Linked DNA regions of Homo sapiens: all the other regions are linked to region 2. The links are contacts of gene promoters, found by promoter capture Hi-C in blood cells and fetal thymus (Javierre and others, 2016). All regions are on one chromosome and are shown on one strand. The core of a region is centred on a gene start or on the middle of the fragment in contact, and the rest is flanking DNA. Distances in the headings are between cores, read along the strand shown.

What was found. Contacts are between HindIII fragments. The CHiCAGO score rates a contact against its expected background, and 5 or more counts as called.
Region 1: a contact is called between a fragment that was not itself captured here and the fragment with the promoter of MVP in region 2, in 1 of 17 cell types (M0 macrophages). The highest score is 5.7, in M0 macrophages.
Region 3: a fragment that was not itself captured here is called in contact with the fragment with the promoter of MVP in region 2 in 4 of 17 cell types (M0 macrophages, megakaryocytes, fetal thymus and 1 more); the score reaches 6.6 in M0 macrophages.

What each region holds. Positions count from the first base shown.
Region 1 is chr16:29,959,008-29,961,707 of GRCh38, reverse strand. No RefSeq gene overlaps it. Among named protein-coding and RNA genes, the nearest start is that of TMEM219, 1.7 kb to the left of the region's middle. RefSeq lists an enhancer at 147-256. The HindIII fragment of the contact is 1,848 bases long and covers 376-2,223 here.
Region 2 is chr16:29,818,901-29,821,766 of GRCh38, reverse strand. It overlaps MVP (major vault protein), which reads right to left and starts at 1,305. Exons shown (of 15, transcript NM_005115.5): 1 at 1,257-1,305. PAGR1 (PAXIP1 associated glutamate rich protein 1) reads right to left here. Exons shown (of 3, transcript NM_024516.4): 3 at 1-2,212. The coding sequence ends at 2,013. MVP-DT (MVP divergent transcript) reads left to right here and starts at 1,400. Exons shown (of 4, transcript NR_186424.1): 1 at 1,400-1,583; 2 at 2,166-2,227. RefSeq lists enhancers at 582-871, 334-900, 1,592-1,661. The HindIII fragment of the contact is 7,186 bases long and covers 1-2,866 here.
Region 3 is chr16:30,051,132-30,053,831 of GRCh38, reverse strand. It overlaps LOC112694756 (uncharaterized LOC112694756), which reads right to left and starts at 681. Exons shown (of 14, transcript NM_001365304.2): 1 at 615-681; 2 at 333-368. The coding sequence starts at 338. It also overlaps a transcript of TLCD3B not described here. RefSeq lists an enhancer at 1-278. The HindIII fragment of the contact is 1,085 bases long and covers 809-1,893 here.

The sequences.
Region 1 (2,700 bases), core at 50-2,549, 140 kb before region 2:
ATCCGCTCAGAGTTGCAGGGCTGCCACTTGAGGACTCTGTCCACTGGGGCTGGGAGTGGTGTTTTGGACTCCGCTCTTCTGTGCACCCCGATCTGCACCTTTCTCGTGGACCCTGACTTTTAGTGACTCCTTAATGTATAGGATGCTGGAGCTGAAGAGTTGCTCAGTAGAGAGCATCTCAGTTCACTTCTGCCCAAGTTTTGGAGGTGAGAACATCTGACTGGAGGTAGCATGACACATGGAGCCAGGAACTTTGGGTTCAAATCCTGACTGTCCGTACCCTCGCATAAGCCATAGCCGCGCTCTCAGGGGACTAAGCTTACCCCTCTACTAAAGAGGATCATCCTATCTATCTCACCGGTTGGATCAGAAGCTTAAAGGGTAAAATGTGGGAAAACATGGGCCCAGTGCCCACTAAGCACACAGGACAGATGCTACTTGAAACGGAATCTATTTAATTCGACTGTGGCTTCCTTAAGGCAGAGGCCATGTCGTTTGTATCAACAGCCACAAAAGTTTGTGGCACAAAACCTTCGCATATACAAATGATTTTTTTTTTTTTTGAGACGGGGTCTCAGTCTGTCGCCAGGCTGGAGTGTAGTGGCGCGATCTCGACTCACTGCAACCTCCGCCTCCCGGATTCAAGCTATTCTTCTGCCTCAGCCTTCCGAGTAGCTGGGACTACAGGCGCACGCCACCACGCCCAGCTAATTTTTGTATTTTTAGTAGAGACGAGGTTTCACCATGTTGGCCGGGATGGTCTTGATCTCTTGACTTCGTGGTCTGCCCGCATCGGCCCCCCAAAGTGCTGGGATTACAAGCGTGAACCACCACACCCGGCCGATTTTTTTTTTTTTTTTTTTTTTTTTTTGACAGAGCCTTGCTCTGTCATCGCCCAGGCTGGAGTTCAGTGGCACAATCAAAGCTCGCTGCAGTCTGGACGTCTTGGGCTCAAGAGATCCTCCCGCCTTAGCCTCCTGGGTAGTTGAGACAGCCGGTAGTCACACGCCACCCACCATGCCCAGCTAACTTTTGCATTGTGTGTAGAGACGGGGTTTTGCCATTTGCCATGTTGCCCAGGCATGTCTCGAACTCCTGACCTCAAGCAGTCCTCTCGCCTCGGCCTCCCAAAGTGCTGGGATTACAGGCGTGAGCCACTGTGCCCTGACTAGTCAAATGATTTTTGACAAGGGTGCTGTGGGCGTTCAGTAGAGAAAAGAGTCTTTTCTGTGCATCGAAGGACACAACAGGCTGGGCACGGTGGCTCAAGCCTGTAATCCTAGCACTTTGGGAGGCCGAGGCGGGTGGATCACCTGAGGTCAGGAGTTTGAGACCAGCCTGGCCAACATGGTGAAACCCCATCTCTACTAAAAGTACAAAATTAGCCAGGCATGGTGCCGGGCGCCTATAATCCCAGCTACTCCGGAGGCTAAGGCTGGAGAATCGCTTGAACCTGGGGAGTGGAGGTTGCAGTGAGCTGAGATTGCACCACTTCACTCCAGCCTGGGCAAAAGATCAAAACTCTGCCCCACAAAAAACAAAAACAAAAAAAGGAAAGGACAGTGAAAAGGCAACCAACAGAATGAGAGGAAATATCAAATCATATATCTTATAAGGGGTTAATATCTATAATATATAAAGAACTCCTACAACTCAACAACAGCCCAATCTCAGCTCACCTCAACCTCTGCCTCTCAGGCTCAAGGGATTCTCCTGCCTCAGCCTCCCGAGTAACTGAGATTACAGGCACACGCCACTATCACCTGACTAATTTTTGTACTTATTAGTAGAGACAGGGTTTCACCATATTGGCCAGGCTGATCTCAAACTCCTGACCTCAAATGATCCACCCGCCTTGGCCTCCCAAAGTACTAGGATTATAGGCGTGAGCCACCGCGCCCGGCCTAATTTTTTGTATTTTTAGTAGAGATGGGGTTTCATCATGTTGGCCAGGCTGGTCTCAAATTCCTGACCTCAGGTGATCCACCCGCCTCAGACTCACGAAGTGCTGGGATTACAGGTGTGAACCACCGCACCAGCCAAGTATACCAACATTTTGACTTAATCCACTCAACAAGCCCTCAAAGTGGATGTTATTCTGGAAAGCTGGCCCTTAGTTTAAGTCAGGGGTCCCCAACCCCTGGGCCGTGGGGCCAGTACCAGTCCGTGACGTGTTAGGAACTGAGCCGCACAGCAGGAAGTGAATGGCTGGTGAGAGAAGCTTCATCTGTATTTACAGCTACTCCCCATTGCCTGCATTACCGCCTCAGCTCTGCTTCCTGTCAGATCAGTAGCGGCATTAGATTATCATAGGAGCATGAATCCTATTGTGAACTGCGCATGCGAGGGATCTAGGTTGCTCCTTATGAGAATCTAATGCCTGATGATCTCTCACTGTCTCCCATCAACATCAGATGGGACTATCTAGTTGCAGGAAAACAAACTCAGGGATCCCACTGATTCTACTTTATGATGAGTTGTATAATTATTTTATTATACCTTATAATGTAATAATAATAGAAATAAAGTGCAAAATAAATGTAATGTGCTTGAATCATCCCGAAACCATTCCTCCCCTGGTGGAAAAATTGTCTTCCATGAAACTGGTCCCCAGTGCCAAAAAGGTTGGGGACTGCTGGTTTAATTTAACCAAGGTCATACATATATTAGGTGGCAGAAGTTGGGTTATGATTTAAGCCT
Region 2 (2,866 bases), core at 56-2,555:
ATTAACTCATGTTATCCTCACAAGAACCTGCAAGTTAAGAAATTTGCCCAAGAGCACACAGTTATCAAAGGACGGAGCCGGAAGTCCAACCTGGCTATAACTGTAGAGACCACAAACTAGGAGGCAGTGGCTTCTCAGGCAGAAACACAAAGATTCTAAGCCGAGAACAAGAACTAGAGGACCTGGGTGGGGCTGTGTACTGCCCAGATGGTGCTAATGGCAGTTCAAAGGTGAGTGTTTCCTGTAAGTTGGGCCAGCGCCCAGCCTCTGCTCCCCCAGAACCTGGGAGGGCAGCACCCAAGATAACCTGAGCACCCCGTTACCTTGGAGCCCTGAGGCTGTCTCTGGGCCACCCACTCAAGGTGGCCCCCCTACCTGCTCAAGGCTACATACAGAGGGCTGTCCTGCCCAAACAGCCACACCCGAGGGCCGACCCAGTGCTCTGTGTGCCAAGGGAGTTTCTGGCAGAGCCACCTGATACCCCACGTGACAGCTGGCCTCTCCCCCATCACCCAGGGGCTACCCAGGCAGAGAGCTGAGAACACAGGGGCCATCAGCCTCGCTATCACCTCCACCCCCAAGTGCTTGGCTCCCCAAGGGACAGCTCTAAAATCCCCAGAATCTCAGGCTGGTGGGTCCAGCTGAGCATCCTAGTTTTCACTTTCTCCTCCCAAAAAGGAAAGAACCTTGGTCACTAAATTCTACGCCTTCTGGAAATCACTCTGCTAATGACTTCCTGAATGATCGACTGAGACCAACAGCTGGCCCAGCCCTGCATGGAGGAGTAAGAAACCCTCATCTGTCAGAGTTAAGGGGCCTGAATGGGTACAGGTCACATTCTTGGAGCTCAAGGTGACAGGCCAGAGCCCAGGTCCCCAGGACAGTGCAGGTGAGTAGAGCAAGCACCGATCTAGGGCTAAGATGGGGTCTGAATGACCCTGTAAGGTTCCCCACCTGATTTCCCAGGTGGGACCCTGAAGTCAGAGAGAGGCCTGAGAGTTGCAGGGGGGTGGGGGACCGGTGTTGGTGTTAATCTGCCTTTACTTCAAAACCCAGAAGACTCCCAACTATTGGAAAGTGAAACCTCCAAAAGCAAAGCCACCACCCATCCTCCTTCCCCACTCTGATTCAGACATGTTTTCCCTGCCCCAGCAGAAGCAAGGCCCTTCAAAGCAAGACAGGACTAAAGAGAGCCTCAAGGGATACAAAGATCTGCCCCTGATTTGGGGTTTGGGGGGCTAGTACAATGTACTCACATCTAGAAGTGCAGGTAGCTGCAACAAACGCCTCAGATGGGGAACTCTCACCCTGCCTTGGGGATCACTTCCCGGCAGGGCAAGGCAGGCCAAGCCCAGGGGTGGGGCTTGGGAGTTAAAGGGCCCGTGTGCAGCTGGTTCTCATTTTATCCTCCGGGCTGCTTCTGCTGCAGCTGAAGGCACACTGCTCCCTGAGTGCTCATGGGTTTCTACCTTGGAGCCAGCTGGCTGCACTGGAGTGGGACTGGGAGGAGTTGGAGGGCCCGAGATGGGACAGGTGCTAACTGAGGGCACCTCTACCCATCTGGCTTTCATTTTCCAATCTGGGTGAGTACAATTCTGCCTCTCCCTTCAAGTGGGGCCTAACTGTTGAGCTACAGCTACAGCCCCTCCTTTTAAGAGATGATAGCTCTGCATCTTTTATTTCAGACTCAGAAAATTCAGTCCAGGTCTCTGAATAGGTGTTCAATAGAAAACACACACTCACACACTCTCTCTATATAGATGTTCAATAGAAAACACACACACTCTCTCTATAGGTGTTCAATAGAAAACACACACACACACTCTACAGGTGTTCAATAGAAAAAACACACACACACACTCACACTCTCTCTTCCTCTTTCCCGCAACGTGCTGTTTGGGAGCTTGAGGTTTCTCTCTTCTTCCCAAGTTTCTCAATGTCTGGGCTGGGGAAGGAGGGCCCAGGCTCCAGCAGGTACGGACACTGCACCCTAGAGGCAGGAGCAGTGGGAATCAGTATTTCCGCTGCCGAGGGAAGAGACTACTCCCGGAGGATCGGAGTGGGGGGCTGGCGGGGCTGGGGTCCTCCGAGTCCAGGCTGAAGAGGTCCCTCCCGGTACGAAGGATCTGCTCCTCCAGCTTCTTGTGTCTCTTCATGTCCGACAGCACCTTGTCCAGGCGGGCCTCCCGTTTCTGGCTCCGGGCTGAGCTTCCTGGAGAAGAGGAAGGTAAGATACATGGAAGGGATGGAGGTGGTGTACACCATACCTGCCTGGACCTCACTCATCACTTGGGGAGCTGGTTAAACATGCAGGTCCCCAGGCCTCTGTCTTGGAGGACCTGAGGTTCAGGGTTGGACCTCAGAGAGGGTGAGAAGCAAAGATCTTGATTGACAGGAAGGCACAGGTAATGTGAAGAACAGGGAGGAACATACTGGGCAGGGGAATGGCAAGGGTAGAGGCCCCAGGACAAGAACAGAGTTCTGTTCAAAGAAGAGTGCAGGCCGGGCATGGTGGTTCACGCTTGTAATGCCAGCACTTTGGGAGGCTGAGGTGGGCAACTCACGAGGTCAGGAGTTTGAGACCAGCCTGGCCAACACAAAAAATTAGCTGGGCGTGGTGGTGGGCGCCTGTAATCCCAGCTACTTGGGAGGCTGAGGCAGAAGAATCGCTTGAACCCGGGAGGTGGAGGTTGCAATGAGCCAAGATCGCACTACTGCACTCCAGCCTCGGTGACACAGCTACACTCCGTCTCCCCTACTCGCCAAAAACAAAAACAAAAAAAAGAGTGCAGAGAACTGGAGGTGGCGGGAAAAGCGCTTGGATTCTCCTTTGACATGCTCTTCCCTGGCAAGATGGAATCCCTTG
Region 3 (2,700 bases), core at 102-2,601, 230 kb before region 2:
CTCTCCCTCCCCCTCTTCCAAACACACGATAGCCCTAGCAGTTCCCCAAATGCTGCAGCCTCCCTCTCACCCCCAGACTGTTTCCTCTGCCGGAAATGCCTTTTCTCGTGGATTACTTAGTCAACTCCTTATCTTGCCAGGAATACCAGAAATGTGCCCTCCCGTGGGAAGTCCATTCCTGGACTCTTCCTGACAGCTCTCGTCCTGAGCTGGCAGGTTGTAGTCTCTGTTGGGTAGAAGCCCCCTCCCCAGTCCGTGCTGGAAGACAGGCCCATTCGGGGTTAGGAGAGGGCGCTGAGGGGGCCCAGAGAGGGGAAGGGGCCCGGACTTACGTCCATGGGGAAGGGCAGAGCCAGTCAGTCCGGGAGCTGCAGAAGGAAGGTTCTGGGTCTCAGAGGCTGAGAGGCACCGTTAGACCGGGGTGCCCACCCTCCTTCCCTTTCCTGTTTGGGGAAACTGAGGCCATGGCTGGGCCGGAGGGTGGAATTCGGGAAGGGGAATGGGGGGCGGGGGATCCGAGGCGGCGCCTTCCTCGCAGGCTCCAGCGCGCCCCAGGCCACTCCCCTCCTCAGTCCCCACACTCCGGGCTTCCCCAGTCGGTCAGCACCCATCACCTGCACCCTCGGGCCGCGGGCAATTCACGGATTCCGCGCCAAGCTAGGTCCAATCGTCCGAGGGACCGGCCCCGCCCAGAAGCCGTTCGCGGCATCCCGCTGTTGCCATGGTGACCAGAGCGGTGTTTGTACGGCGGCTGCCGAGGCCCAAACTCCCTCTTCCCGCCTCGCGCCTCCCTCTTCCCGCCTAAGCTTCAACTGTCACCGGCTCTGCGCCGCCGCGGCCCTCGGGGCTTTCTCGCGGGGAGCGAAGGGGAAGAGCGAATCCCGCCGCCGCCCGCCTGGGTCGGATCCTCATCAGATGCCGGACGTTGGAGGAGGCACCGGGTTCTGGGGCGCCACAGGAGGATTGAACCCCCAGGCTACACCCACCACTTGGATGTATCTCCGGCCAAGCCACTGAGCATCTGCAAAAGGGAGAAACGCCTGCCGCTCAGGGATATTGTAAACATCAATGCTACTTTTTATATTTTATTTATATTTATTTATTTATTTATTTATTTATTTATTTATTTATTTTTGAGACGGAGTCTCGCTCTGTCGCCCAGGCTGCAGTGCAGTGGCGCGATCTCGGCTCACTGCAACCTCCGCCTCCCGTGTTCAAGTGATTCACCTGCCTCAGCCTCCCGAGTAGCTGGGATTACAGGCGCGCACTACCACACCCGGCTAATTTTTGTATTTTTAGTAGAGACAGGGTTTCGCAATGTTGACCAGGCTGGTCTCGAACTCCTGACCTCAAGTGATGCGCCCGCCTCAGCTTCCCAAAGTGCTGGGATTATAGGCGTGAGCCACCGCGCCGGGCCCGGTTCTTTTTTACTGATTTATTTATTAATTGATTTATTTATTTTTTGGAGACAGATTTTCGCTCATCTCCCAGGCTGGAGTGCAATGGTGTGATCTTGGCTCACTACAACCTATGTCTCCTGGGTTCAAGCGATTCTCCCGCCTCAGCCTCCCGAGTAGCTGAGATTACAGGCGACTGCCACCACGCACACCTAATTTTTGTATTTTTAGTAGAGACGGGGTTTCACCATGTTGGCCAGGCTGGTCTCGAACTCCTAACCTCAGGCAATCCCGCCCGCCTTGGCCTCCCAAAGTGCTAGGATTACTGGCATGAGCCACTGTGCCCAGCCTTTTTTTCTGAATTTTTAGAGATGTGGTCTTGCTATGTTGTTAAGGCTGGTCTTGAACTCCTGGGCTCAAGCAGTCCTCCAGCCTCAGCCTCCCAGGTAGCTGGGATTACAGGCATAAGCCACCTTCAGTAGGATCTGCTGAAGCTTCCTGAACCAGTGTGTAGGGTCTCACATTTCCACAGCTTTGCAGTTGCTGATCCCTCTGCCTGGAACACCCTCTGTCTTCCCCTCAAACCTCTTCCTCATCCCTCAAGCACGTCCTCAGTTTTGCCTCTGTGAGGTCTCCCTGCCAACCTCAGGCAGAGGTGGCTGCTTTGGACTGTGAATTCCCACAGCATCCTACAGATACTGTTGTTCTCGCACTTCTCACAAGATACTTGAATTCCTCACTTCCATGTCTGGCTCCACAATTAGACTGCAAGTGTCTGGGGCCTGGTCTGAGTCATCTCCGTATCCTGAGCTCTAGTACTTGGCCTAGCCCTGGGAGCCTTGGTGAATACTCACTGATTCTTTTTCTTTCTTTCTTTCTTTTTTCTTTTCTTTTCTTTTTTTTTTTTTTTTTTGAAACGGAGTTTTGCTCTTGTCGCCCAGGCTGGAGTGCAATGGTGTGATCTCAGCTCACTGCAACCTCCGCCCTGGATTCAAGCAATTCTCCTGCCTCAGCTTCCAGAGTAGCTGGAAGTGCCACCATGCCCAGCTAATTTTGTATTTTTAGTAGAGACGGGGTTTGTCCATGTTGGTCAGGCTGGTCTCGAACTCCCGACCTTAGGTGTTCTGCCCGCCTTGGCCTCCCAAAGTGCTGGGATTACAGGTGTGAGCCACTGCGCCTGGCCTGTTTTTTTCTTTTAATAAAGTAGACATGGGGTCTCACTATGTTGGCCAGGCTAGTCTCCAACTCCTGCCTCAAATGATCCTCCCACCTCGGCCTCCCAGGTTGCTGGTATTACAGGCCA